2 separate regions of the Homo sapiens genome follow, and region 1 is linked to region 2. The links are contacts of gene promoters, found by promoter capture Hi-C in blood cells and fetal thymus (Javierre and others, 2016). All regions are on one chromosome and are shown on one strand. Each heading gives the region's core, a stretch centred on a gene start or on the middle of the fragment in contact. The rest is flanking DNA. Distances are from core to core; before and after follow the strand shown. Region 1 overlaps HBP1 (HMG-box transcription factor 1). Region 2 holds the start of KMT2E-AS1 (KMT2E antisense RNA 1).

What was found. Contacts are between HindIII fragments. The CHiCAGO score rates a contact against its expected background, and 5 or more counts as called.
Region 1: a fragment that was not itself captured here is called in contact with the fragment with the promoter of KMT2E-AS1 in region 2 in 1 of 17 cell types (neutrophils); the score reaches 6.4 in neutrophils.

What each region holds. Positions count from the first base shown.
Region 1 is chr7:107,171,395-107,178,491 of GRCh38, reverse strand. The region is part of intron 1 of HBP1 (HMG-box transcription factor 1); the gene reads right to left. Among named protein-coding and RNA genes, the nearest start is that of HBP1, 5.9 kb to the right of the region's middle. The HindIII fragment of the contact is 5,805 bases long and covers 488-6,292 here.
Region 2 is chr7:105,009,905-105,016,758 of GRCh38, reverse strand. KMT2E-AS1 (KMT2E antisense RNA 1) reads left to right here and starts at 2,618. Exons shown (of 1, transcript NR_024586.1): 1 at 2,618-6,217. It overlaps KMT2E (lysine methyltransferase 2E (inactive)), which reads right to left and starts at 2,554. Exons shown (of 27, transcript NM_182931.3): 1 at 2,224-2,554. RefSeq lists enhancers at 2,235-2,464, 2,725-2,844, 3,165-3,214, 3,006-3,545, 3,635-4,004 and 1 more and silencers at 2,525-2,614, 2,965-3,014. The HindIII fragment of the contact is 4,615 bases long and covers 1,527-6,141 here.

The DNA of each region.
Region 1 (7,097 bases), core at 2,141-4,640, 2.2 Mb before region 2:
AAATAATTTCTCAGCAAAATCCAACAACTAAATATTATTATGAAAGGAAAATGTGGTTGTCTCTTTTATTTCACCCTTTGGACAACGATCGAATTAGTTCTTTATTTAACATAAGCAACAATGGTAAGATTTTTCTGATTTCTCAGGCTCTAGTCTAAATTCCATTTTTTAAAAAAGTTCTAGCCTGATGCAGTAGCTCATGCCTATAGTTCCAGCTACTTAGGGTAGACTGAAGGGGGACGACAACTTCAGCCTATGCGTTGGAATCCAGCCTGGGCAATGTAGCAAGACCCCCCCTCTTAAAGAAAAAGTTCTAATGAGTGAATATGAAATACACAAAAAAATCCTGACTTTTGCAACAACATATTTTTCCTCAAAATAAAGCAATAAAATATATTGCTGTTAAAAGTCACTGAAAGTCAAGCACCCAGTGCAGGCTGATCAAAACTGCACTGAAAAAATGTTAATCACTTAATATTTATAAGCTTTCTAAGTCATGATGTTAATTACCAATAAACACCGATGACACTGATAAATTTCTTTCTACGAAGACTTTTTCATGATCTTTTTGGTTTTGAAATGTATTCCTGACTAGAAAATACAATCACTGTGAAAAAAAATGGGAAAAAAAATTTTTTTGGAAAAAAAGGAATATGATTACTTCTAACCCCACCAACCAGACTTAGATATTTTTACATTTTGATGTATTACAATCCAATTTCTTCTTCATGTACACATATACTCAATCATGTTTTTCTTCATATTTCATATTATAGTTTGATACCTTTTGGCCTAATATAAGTTCATAAGCATTTTCCTATGTTATTTTTTCAAAGCTCTAAATGGTTAAATATACATCAGAAGGATGTACCGAAATTCACTTATCCCCTCTACTACTGAATATGCTATTCCCAGTTTCTTCACTCTTCTAAACACTGAATTTATATTCTTATTTTTTAAAAGTATTTGCTTACATCTGATTATTTTAGATTGCTAGATACAGCGTTCTTGACACATAGCCCAACTGCATGCATATTGCCTTACTGTATGTCTAATATTCTATTTTGGATGCTATCTGCCTATATCCCTCAAAAATAACCCTTAGCCTGGGCACTGCTTTAGAGCCTTGCTCAATACTGACTATACAATTTGCTACTATTATGGTGTAGCAAAAAGGGCACTGGGTTAGATGTAAGGAAACGGGTTTTGATTCCAACTTGATCACTTACCAAATATATGACCTAAGTGACTGAGTTTCTCTTCATCTGTAAAATAGAGCTAATGATACCTGCCCTACTCTCCTCTGATAGTAGTTGTGAAGATGAAATGAAATAGTGAAAAAAGTGTAAAATGACGTCTTTTGAAATTTTTTTATCCCCAGACATAGGGCAATATTAAACATACTTTGGGTCTGTAATGTCCTAAATAGAACAGCTACTGAAAATACATAATTAACAGGTGGAAACCAGATAGCTATTCAGTTTCAACAGTCTCCTCCCTAGGAGATATTATGACAAGTCATCCAGCACATCTCCATAAAAATCATGTATCATGCCATTACTTCAAGCCCCTAAAAGATGAAATTTGGAAGAAATTAACGCTTCTCCAGTTTAGTACAATGTACTGATCACAATCAGTCTTAGCATATAGTTACAGCAAATATGCTAGGATATAACAATTTCCCCCACAGAACTAGCGACTAGAGAAAATGTGTAACACAAATCTATTTCTCAAGTATGAAATCACGATTTTAAGCCTCCACTCTCTCCCTGAAAAAAAAAAAAAAAAAAATGGAGCAAATTTAATTTCATCAGTGATTCTCTACTCTGTGGCACACGAAATCATACATATGCTTAAAAAAATGTTGTCCAGGCCCCATCCCCAGAGGATCTGATCTGTTTGGTGTGGGGTATGGCTTTGTGCACTAGTTTTTGTTTCCAGGTGCAGAATACTGAGATACACTGGGCTAAAAATGGTTGCTAAATTCCTACTTATTAAAAAAATCATTTATTTAATAAATACTATGTACAGGGCATTGTATTAGTTGCAATGCTGGATCTCACTAATGAACAATTCATCATGAGTCTGACTTTAGTGGAAAGATATAAGCAAATGACCATAGTTCTACAGAGCAGGACTTGGCTATGAATGGGTTAAAAGAAAAGAAGGGGCTAGATCAGTGGTTCACGCCTGTAATCCCAGCACTTTGGGAAGCCGAGGAGGGCGGATCACGAGGTCAGGAGTTCCAGACCAGCCTGACCAACATGGTGAAACTCAGTCTCTACTAAAAATACAAGAATTAGCCAGGTATGGTGGCACGCGCCTGTAATCCAACCTACTCAGCAACCTGAGGCAGGAGAATCGCTTGAACCCGGGAGACAGAGGTTGCAGTGAGCCGAGATCGCACCACTGCACTACAGCTTGGGCAACAGAGCGAGACTCCATTTCCGAAAAAAAAAAATGAAAAAAGAAAAAAAGCCGGGTGCGGTGGCTCACGCCTGTAATCCCAGCACTTTGGAAGGCTGAGGCGGGCAGATCACGAGGTCTGGGGATAGAGACCATCCTGGCTAACATGGTGAAACCCTGTCTCTACTAAAAATACAAAAAATTAGCCAGGCATGGTGGCGGGCGCCTGTAGTCCCAGCTACTCGGGAGGCTGAGGCAGGAGAATGGCGTGAACCTGGGAGGCAGAGCTTGCAGTGAGCTGGGATTGCGCCACTGCATTCCAGCCTGGGCGACAGAGCAAGACTCCGTCTCAAAAAAAAAAAAAAAAAAGAAGAGAGGGAGGTCTCCCAATGAGAGAAACTCACATGAGTAAACTCATATAGCTGGCAAAGTCCTAGTGAGATCAGAATATAGAATCTAGTTTTACCACAAAGTAGGATGGCCTTGTGTGTCATGTGATCATGAACACTGAGGCTATACTACTACTACTACTACTATATGGAAAGGTAGTCTAGGATCAGAGTCTTCAATTGTAGTTTAGGAAAACTATTTATTTATTTAGAGACAAGAATAGGGGCTCTGAAATCAGGCTGCCTGAGTTTAAATACCAGATTTGCCACTTACTAGCTATGTACCCTAAATAATTTACTTAAAATCTTCATGCCTTGTTTATAAAATGGCAATAAAAGTACCTACCTCACAGGCTGCTACAAAAACTCAGTGAGATCATGTAAAATGCTCAGAATAGAGCCTAACACAAAGCAAACCTTCAATGTACAGTGGCTAGTGTTATGATTAGCAATTATCAGACAATGAAGAACCACTGATGATTTTTTTTTTTAAAAGAGGTCTGACATGATCAGAACTATACTTTAAAACAGTCTCTTTGAGTCTATGGACAAAATCATACTGAAATACTGTATGAGTATGCAGGAACACCTATAATATTTTAAGGAGGGTATTTTTTTTTTTAAAGAGAGCACTCACATTCCCAGTCTCTATGAAAGCCACCCGTCTCCAGCTTCCTTTGCAATGGTTCTCAGTGCAGATTCCTTATTTATTAACTCTTAAGAGAGAAACTAGTCATACTATGTGAGTTCTTTAAACACCTAATATTAACAGTTTAGATAGGAGATTTTAACTCTTTCCATAGAAGTATTTCTGGCATCTTAAGTATACAGAATATAATTTAACCTATTTTGATAACTAAAAATCCTTATGAATATCCGTACTATGCTTCACATACAGATGTGAGCTGCACAGTCAACCTTATCTGAACTGAAAACATTTCCCATTTTTACCTTTATTATGAAATTTAGAAGCTGCACTACACAGGTATCTCTCTTCAGAGCTATCCTCTGTGTATGAACAGTGCTGTTCTTGGGGTCCACAGAAGCACAGCTGCAGTCTGTCTTGTCTTCCCCCTCCCTCTGCAGAGCTCTTTGGTTTCCTCATTCTTTCCAGCTAGAACTTTTTTCTTCCCTACAGCAGGTCCTGCAGTTTCCAACATTCACCAAGTATAGTACACTAACGTCTCTTTGCAACTTCTATCATTTCTTCAGCACTTTGTCTTAGTTATCAACCACCATCCCAAAACTCCTTAAATGAAGTTGGAAAAAGACATTATTTTAATTTCAAAACAGAGCTACCTATAAATAACCAAAAGAACCAAATAAATATTTACTGAATATAAGTTCTATGTGTTCACACCTCTCATTGCTCAAGGCTATCAGAAGTTTGGTCCTGAGAAAACTGAAGTTCTGCTACTGTAAAGCTACCATACAGTAAGAGAAGCTACACTTCAAGACAACAGACTTCAGTTTCACTCTTACTAGCTGTGTAACCGGGGACAGGTCACTCACTCAATCTCAGACTCACGGTCGGTCCCTCTACTTACCTCACAGGGCTATTCTGAGAATTCAATATATGAAAACAAAATTCAAAACTACATACAAATGGAAATTTTCTGTCTCTTCTGTCTATTCTCAACTATTCTGAAGAAAGAAAGCAAGGTCTCCAATACAATAAAGGAATACCAGGGAAGCCCTTACATTTCTTACTCCCCTACATATATTATACCAATTACATACTCATTTTGATAAACAAGCTCCTCTTTCAAATATCTCCTGGTAGAGCTAACCCTATTGTTCATTCATGCTTTTGTATACTGCTTTGGTATCAGATTCAACACAGCTTGCCTTGTATTTTAGTTAACTCTGCACATGTCATCTCTTCACGAGATCAGTGATTCTCAGTATCTATTTTCCAGAAGTTGTACTCTGAAATGTCATGTTCAGTGTTACAAATTTTACTTTCTTAGAATGCCCCATTGCTTTTGGTATGCAAACTTCCAGAAGCAAATATCCACAAAATCTTAAGACAGGAGAGAAAGAGAGAACTAGAAAAACCTAAGTCTCAATGAATGAAGAAGGAAACAGTTTTACAAAATGCTTACCTACACAGCACTTCCATGTACTTCATCTAATTTTATTTTAAACTCAGAACAACTCTGTGAATAAAGTATTATTATGGATGAGGAAAACAGGACTATGATGACTAAATGGGATCATTTTCTTTTTGAAGGCGAGAGCTGAGAGGGAAAAAAGACAAAAGGTATAAGCCAGCATGGGTTACTTCCTGCTTTCAAGTGCCTATTATTCCCTGAATCCTTACTTTTCCATCATCATCATGGAATCCACAGCAGGATCTTCTATATGCTCTCCCCTAATCCTGAAGGATTTCCATAACCAGTCCAGACTACACGCTCAAATTGTTTTCAAAGAGTAGGTGAAGAAAAGGTAATTTGCAATTAATTTCTATCTCTGAAACTGAGGTATTTTAAATGGATTACATAATTACATGCTAAAACAAGCCTCCATAACAAAGTATATTAAATGCAACTTTCTATACCAAAAGCATCTCTGAGGCTGTAATGCTGTTCTTTTAGAGTATTTTCAACAAAACTTCAAAAGATTTCACAGGTATTTGTCTACAACTCTAGTTTGCCACCGGGCTACAAGAAAAGACAAAACAACAACAAAAACCCTTAGTGGATTCGTTTTGGTCACTTACCACTTTCATGGCCCTGAACAATTAAATCTCTAGGCCTGTTTTCTTATTTGGACCTGTTTTTTTTATTTGTAAATAAGACTAGTGGCCAGGCCCAGTCACTCAGGCCTGCAATGCCAGCACTTTGGGAGACCAAGACAGGAAGATCGCTTGAGCCAGGAGTTCAAGACCAACCAGGGCAACATAGCAAGATCCCATCTCTAAAAAATTTTTAAAAATAAGTAAAAAAAAATGGGACTAGTACCTATCTACCTATCAGAATTGTTGTAGGTATAAAAGATATTACATCCCACAGACACTGCCCAATCCACATCTATACAAGTTCTTAGTAATTTCATGCTCATTCAACATGAAATACTATATTGATCAAGACAATAGAAAACCCATTAATAGCAGAAGCAGTCATCCACAAACTGTTTTAGGAGTACTGTCAATTCAAATAAGTATTTAAGATGAGTCATATAAGATAAGTCACATATTAAAACGACATCATCTAAAAATTCTTATGAAACTTGTTTTCCTAAACTTTGGTGCTTCATAATTTCTATTATCATTTTCTATGGAGAAACTAGAAACATAATTTTCTCCATAATGTGGTTCACTGAGTTTACAAAACTAAGATGAAACTAGAAAGTGAAATCAAAACTTCATTCTATAATTTATCAGTCGAGTAAGCACAAACAATATTTTGCTTTAAAGTGGTTAAATGGCTCCTCAAAAGTATAAGATAAACTCCTAAACATTTTTACATTATCTATAAAAACTTGTGGGAAAAGCTTTTTTTTAAAGCTATGATCAATAACTTTTAAAAACTCAACCACAATTATGGAGAAAATTATGTTTCTAGTTTCTCTATAGAAAATGATAGTAGAAATTATGAAGCACCAAAGTAAATGCTGATAAGTATATGAAAAATGTGAATGTTACTGATATCAGGCAATTAATAAGAATATTAGAGTATGCCATTTTTCCCTGAATTTTGTGATATGCAGGTATCTGGCAGCTTTAATTTTTTTTTAATTCATTGTGATTTATTTTTCCATTCTAAGTAAATACTCACTTTCATACTTAACAGACATAAAATTCCTGGCATTGACTCTTTTTTTTTTTTTTTTTTGGAGAGGAAGTCTCGTTCTGATGCCCAGGCTGGAGTACAGTGGCCTGATCTTGTCTCACTGCAATCTCTGCCTCCCGGGTTCAAGCGATTCCCTTGCCTCAGCCTCCCAAGCAGCTGGGACTACAGGTGTGCGCCACCATGCCCAGCTAACTGTTGTATTTTTAATAGACAATTTCACGACGTTGGCGAGGCTGGTCTTGAACCCCTGACCTCAGGTGATCCACCCGCCTCAGCCTCTCAAAGCGCTGGGACAGGCGTGAGACACCGTGCTGGGACAGTAGTAACTTCTAATGGATAATGTATGCGTGGGGTGGAAAGGGGAGTACCAGTATTTTTATTTCAAACACATATACAAAACACCAGCTTGCAATTCACCCTGAAGAACCCTCAGCACAGAGCAGTTTCATAAGTCCATGCCATCGTGCCATATGCCTTCTTCACTGGCCACTTCGATTAGTGAGGAAAG
Region 2 (6,854 bases), core at 1,369-3,868:
CTCTTCAACCTTTTAAAGTACTACTGGATTGAAAAGCACTCATCTTTCCGTTGCTCCACAATCAGAATGGTCATTAAATGTCATTAATGGCCCACTCACATCTCACTGCTTAGTTCAACCCAAAAAGAACTCCCACTACGAAAGTGAATTCTAATCTTTCACACTTTAAAAAATTCAGTTAAATGACACCTGACACCATTTAATTTTCAGTCTCAGTCTGTAAGTTTCTGAAAATAGCATAAAATGGATTCAAGACCCTATTATGGTAATGTTTTTATTTAAGGTCTATTAAAACAGACTAAATTCCACAATCCTATAATAGGTAAATGGGCATATTTGAAGAGGAAAAAAATCCAGAATCGGAGCCTTACTTTTAACTTACATAATGATGATAGTATGCTGTAAGACGATTGTTAAAGGCAGCATGAAGCTTCACTTTACCAAATACACAATAAACTTTGAAAATTCTTAAGGAAAGCTTAAATACATGGGAAAAATGGATGGCAAAATATAATGGCATCTCTACACCCAATGAAGTAACAGGTTTAAGCTTGTTTGTACAGCTCCCTAAAATTTAAGCTAAAACACAATACAAAAACCAAAATCCACAAAATGGGTCAAGAGGTGGTTGGGAAATGTCTTACTCTAGATTGAAACATTTAATCATATAAAATAGATGATACTTATACAGTTACTAAACATTTTAATCTACTTTGGCATATTGAATAAAAGATGGTTGGATTAAACCAAACAAAAACTATTATTGGTACCCAAATAATTTTTTTTTAATGTTGAAGCGCACCCATCATCACCACTGAAATTTGCAAGGCTGTTTTTTTTTTTCAAAAGTGGAGACATTTTATTTGCCTTTCAGGAAAAACGAATCAAATTAATCAGCTAAAACACAGCACTGTAATTTGCAGTAAAAAATCAACACATTTTTGTAACTGGCTCGGGGAAGGAAAAACAGCCCAGTCTTTTCATGTAAACATAATAAGCCTGTAATATGCTGCAGACAAACGCACTGCATGGGGTGTGGAGGACCCGAGCTGATTAGATTACCACAACATCAGCCTGGGGCCGCCATTTTTAGAATCTGTAAAGGACAAAAGAGGGAAATTTCAGTTTTTACTCCCCATCTCAGAAATTGAAGGAAAAAAACAGACTATTTTCCAAATAGGTATTCATGTCTCCAGCCTCGAGTTGAATGCACCTCACTTAATTCTCTCCAAGGTCTCCAGAACTCCAAACACCTTACCTTATTCACATCTCTAAAAAGGGAACAAAATAGGCAAAACGAGGTTTACTCTAGAGCTAACTCTAGCGATTCCTCTTTGACTTTAAATTGTATCGTTCTTAAGACAGAGCCCAGCAAGGACGGATCTATACGGAACTAAGGCCAGTAGAAGAGAGCACTCTGGATTGTTTTTTTCTCACCCCCACCCCGTTTAGCACAGTGAACCGTTTGTTTCTCATCTGTGTCTGCTGCCATAGAATTTGTGCCAATCCCTTGGTCAAAATAAGCTTTTCTGAAATGAGCCATATTGTAGATCCTAAGGCTCCGGCACAGTAAAGGACGGCGGTAATGCAAAAGGAGTGGGGGAGGAGACTGAGAAGGCTGGGTACTGGGGTGACCACTTCAGGGGCGGGTTTACCCTCTCCAGGAGAGGATGAGGAGCTAGCTGTCTCGCTCTCCCACAAAGAGAGATGCCCAGGGCGTTCTTCTTACCCCCTTCGTATTCATGTGCACATTATACCAGAGACTGCCCGTCAAGAAATGGAAGAAGAAAATGGGGCCTATATGGCTTTTCAGCACCTGAACAAGACGCGGTTGAGAAAAGGGAGCGCTGGCAGCTCCTGGGACCACTTCGACACAAACCCTACTAACAGTCACAAGCCTCCGTCTTCACTCAAGCGGCCTTAACCCGCTGCCAATGAGGAGTGCGCCCCCTCCCTAACTCCCCCACTCTCAAGGGGGTTTAACTGCCAGTTACCCCTTTCCCAACCCTAAAACCCGCCATAATGCTCCATTTCTAGGGTCAGGGAGAAGAAAGAATAAATTCGATTTAAGCAAGCAACGTCTTGCGCCGGCAAAGACACCTGAGAGTCAACGTCGGCTCCCCCAGCTTAAGGATAAAGATGAGAGACCTCCCTCCCCCTTGAAACACAAGTACCCCAACCCCGCAAGCCCCAGGAACTCCCATGGAGACGACAGGCACTAACCTGTGATGTTCACACACGAGACACCCGAACCCCGTTATGTGCTCGACCCCCAAGGAGTCTCTCCGCACCTCCGCGAACAGGCGACCCCCCGACAGCAGCCACTGCGGACACAGGACCCGGCTCCACACACCCCCTCCCCAAACAGCAGCGCGCAGCCTCTTCACCAGGAACCGAGGAGTAGGGGAGGGGGCAGCCAGGCAGTCAACAGGAACGCAGAGACGACGGCGAGGCTGCTCGGAGTGTCTATGCCCACTCTGTTGCCGCTCCCGAACTCCGGCACGGTCTCCGACTCGGCCCCCTGCGCCCGCTCAGTGTCACTGCCTCTCGCTCTGGGAAAATGGCGGCGGCGGCGGCGGCGGCCGCGGCGGCGGCGGCGGCGGCGGCAAGTGCACGGGGTACGCCCGTCCCGCTCCGCAGGGGCAGAGGGGGAGGGGATGAAGCTGCCCGGCGCCATTTTGCTTGTGGGCTGCCGCCCGCCGTTGCCTCTCCGCGGAGGCTCGAAGATAGCAAACTGGAGGCGGTGAGGGGGACGGAATCTCTGTCTTTCTGACAACAGATGCATTCAACAATCCACCGAAGGTTTGAGGAAGTGTCGGTATTCGGTGGGACTGGTTCTTTCCCCCTTTCCCCCAGTGGCCCTCAAGTCTGGATATAGGTGAGCTTGGGCATGCCAGTATTGGGTGCACGAACAAGGACAGCAGGGCTTGGGAACGAACTCCCTCCCGTCACCCTCCGAAAGCGATACACCTTCTCCCCCTCCCAAACAACCCCAGTCCCGTCTCCCCGTTCCTCTCCCCCTCCTCCCCCAGCCCAGTCTGGCCTCCAGCGCTGGGTGAACCCGGTTGGGGTGTCACTCGACGCCCACTAGGGGCTGAGGAGGCTCCAGTGCGCAGGCTCCGGGCACCGGATAAAAGCGGAGCTGGCGAGTCTAGTGCTGTCTCGATGGAGGAGCAAGAAACGGAAGAGGTCGGGGGGAGAAGCAGCCGGAAAAATGCAGCCACCGTCAACGCCGCCTCCCTGCCACCGTGCTTCGGGGTAAAAAGCTGCCGTTGCCGTCGGTGCAGTTGCCGTCGCTGCCTCCTATACTTCTCTTGGCCTCGGGGAAGGATTTCCCCACCGGTGGGACAATGTGCGGGGAGGGGAGTGGGAATTCCTTTATATGGCGGTGATTAAACGAGGGAGGGACAGACAGTGATCTCGAAGAAAAAAGGGGGAGACCAAAGAATAAAAGAAGGGTTTCCCCACTAAAATGACACGGCGATTCCGGCTCTTGTTTTGGGGGTCTTTCCCCGAAATGGTTTCCGTCTTCCCCTTGCCCCGCAGCGACCCAGAGCGCTGGGGGAAGCGGAGTGGGGAGAGGCAGAGGCGGTCTCGGCAGCCAATCAGCGCCTGATGTGTCCTGTCGGGCGCGTCGTGGTTGGCTGGCGATGACCTCATCCTGCAGCAGCGGGTGGGGCCAAAGCCGTAGGGGGAGGCTGTTGCAAAGGTAGAGAGGGAGAAGTGACGATGGTGATCGTTGCTGCCGCGGCCGATATGGAACCCAAGCAGTGGCGAAGGGAATCGCAAGGCTCTTCCCTGACCATTTTCTACTGTCCCTGCGCGAGGTGAGGGCCCCGGCTCGGCCTCTGCAAAACTTTGGGGCGCTGGCGCGGAGGAGGAGACAGGATTTCTCCCGTGACTTTTGTAACTGCGTCAGGGCAAGATGGCGCTGGGTCTCTTTGGGGCGCGGGGGGAGAGGCACGTCCACCGCCGCAGCGCATGTGACCGGGCTGCATTCCTGTGGGGTTTGGCTCCGACCCAGGCCGGGGCGGGGGAGGGGACAGGGCTTGGGCGGAGGAGACTGTGGTGCGGTCGGCGTTGGCGGCCTGAAGAGGAAGAGATGACTGTTGGAAAGCGTTCCCCTCCCCCATACGGCAGAACAGCTGCGGCTCCCAGGGGAAAGCCCCCGCAGGACAGTCCTCGTGGGGTGTGACGGCTGTTGGTGGAGAAGGTTTGGCGCCCTATTTTCTTATCTGCCTTTCTCCCCGCAAAGTATACTTATGTAAGGTGGTAGTTCCCTGACGTGGGACTCGGAATCAACTAGGAGTCCTTGAGGGCCTCTGGGAGGCCTAGCGAGGGGTAGACCAGCTTCTGGGGGTACAACGTCAAGGAGGATCGATTACTTTCTGAGGAAACAGTTTCTCAGATTGAAATAGAAAAGTATTTCCAAAGTTTGGAAACAAATTTAAAGGTGTAAATAACACCCAGGAACACTTTAATTGCTTTGAAAAGGCATAAGCAGCCATCTGAATTTAAGGGCCCTTTTCAGACTCTTCCTTCCTCCTGTGATTCCTGTTCTTTATTTCAGTTTTCTGTCTGTACATCCCTTAAGAATATAGTTTTGTCGGTGGGATTCGCTCTTTTGTGCCCAGGCTGGAGTGCAGAGGCGAGATCTCGGCCCACTGCAACCTCCGCCTCCCCGGGTTCAGGCGAGTCTCCTGCCTCAGCCTCCCAGGTAGCTGGGATTACAGGCGCCCACAACCACACCCTGCTAATTTTTTCTATTTTTAGTAGAGACGGGGTTTCACCCCATTGACCAGGCTGGTCTCGAACTCTCGAGATCCGCCCGTCTCAGCTTCCCAAAGTGCTGGGATTATAGGCATGAGCCACCGCGCCGGGCCTGCTTTTTTTTTTTTTTTTTTTTTTTGCACTGGGCATTAGTAATACGGAATAAAAGCCGTGTTTTAAACTGTATTAAGTTGTAAGACTTTTCAGTACTTTCAAGTCTGCTTTCTTTCTGTTGCCCTTTTGTAGTTTTTAAAAATAAAAGATGCAATTATAAGCACTTCCGGTGAATATTATTCCTTAAGGTTCCTGCATCATCATGAAATTTGAAGCACTTTTATAGTAGTACAAACTATACTTTTAGCTTTTGAAATCTCGATAGGAGAAAATATCCAGCAGTTTTAGGGGCTATTTTGGCATATTCATTAAGGTAGACTAAGTTTGTTTTTCGTTTTTCCCACTTAGCCAAACTAGTTAAAGTAGTCAAAACTAGCAAATAATTTTTAAAGGGCTTCTCCTTTTGGGTGGTGTAGAGGGTGGGGAGTTATTCAACAAACACATTTGCAGCCAAAATCTGGCCTACTTCTTGGCAGAGCGCTTATACTTGGTGCTACGAGAAAATGATTGCTGGACCTGAAAAGAACCTGAGGTCAAGGTTGTGCTATTTCCTTAAGTCTTAGTTGTAGGCTCTTGGTAGTTTGAAAACAAGATTGGGTTTTTAATTCATTTGTGTATCCTTAAATCCTCACTAGTTTTTGTGGATTTCTTTTTTCAGTTATAAGCAACTGAATGTGGATGAGCTATAAATATTTAGTACAAAGAATGTAATTTGTCCACTCTGAATAGAAAGTAAGCATTAAGAACTCTTGAATGTCTTCAAGGGTTACTTTGTTACGTGTAAGATGTCTCCCCTTCCTTCATAGCAGTTTTTATTCCTGCTTAAAAAGGGAACTAAATATGAAGTCAGTAGATTTTAAGGTAATTTTCAGAATGTTTCTACTTTCACCGTGCCTTAATAAGGAAAAAAGGCCATTTTCCAAGCGAATGGAAACACCCTTTCCTTGTTTTGTGCCTTTAATCAGCGTGTACCTTCATTGTTCCTGATTGCCAAATCCACGAACTTCTTGAGCTCTCAATTTTTCTTGACTTTCCTATGGCATTTTAAATACTGTTCATACTTGGAATTACTTTTCTTTGACTGCCTTCATACATTCATATATTCTGCCTGGGCAATTTCATTTGGGCCTATTATGTTCCAATACCTCTCCAATTTTCACCTCCATCTTAGCTCTGCCAGCTTCAGTGCCACAGGTAGGCAATGTAAAAGTTTACTGGGGACCACAGGCTTTCTGAGCTCAATAAAAATACTAAGCTTGGTACTTGTTTTTTAAGAATTTTCTTCCCCCATCCCCTCACAAAGATTATTTGAGTAAATTACACCCCAACCTCCTTTTCCTTGTTTTTGTTGAAATTATTGTCTCTTAACTTTGGAACATTGCAGTTGCGGTAAGCTTACTAGGTTCACATAGCATATCTTCTGGTGTGTTAAAATTAAAATGCACACCATCTCAAAAGTGCTATGCCATTTCATACCTTTGTGCTTTTGTCCTGCTACCTGGAGTGCGTCTTTCTCACTTCTGGATAATACAATTTGAACCTTTTCTTTGCCTCTTGAAACTGCAAAATCCCTACTCGCAAGTAAATGTGTCATTCTTTATGTTGATAACCCAGCCTAGTGCTTGACACTTGATGGGCATTCAGGTATACATGGTTTTTTAGAGATTGATAAGATTAACTGTGCAGTCTATAAACTGTAAATACTGGCTTTTAAACTCTTTTAAAGGAGCTCTTTTGATAAACAATTTGGATAAGAGATGAAAGGTTAGGGAGGCTCCAGGCAAGGCAGAAGACTGCTGATGGCCCAGAGATAGTTCTGCCCCAAAAAGGTGGGAAGAAGAAAAAAACTGAGCTGGATATTTTTAAGGAAATATATTTTATAGCATTTTTCTTTAATGCCTAGTTTTGCTGCAAGCACTGAAGTTTATCCTGCATTTGTATTTCTTATTTGAAAAAGAAATGGCCTTTGG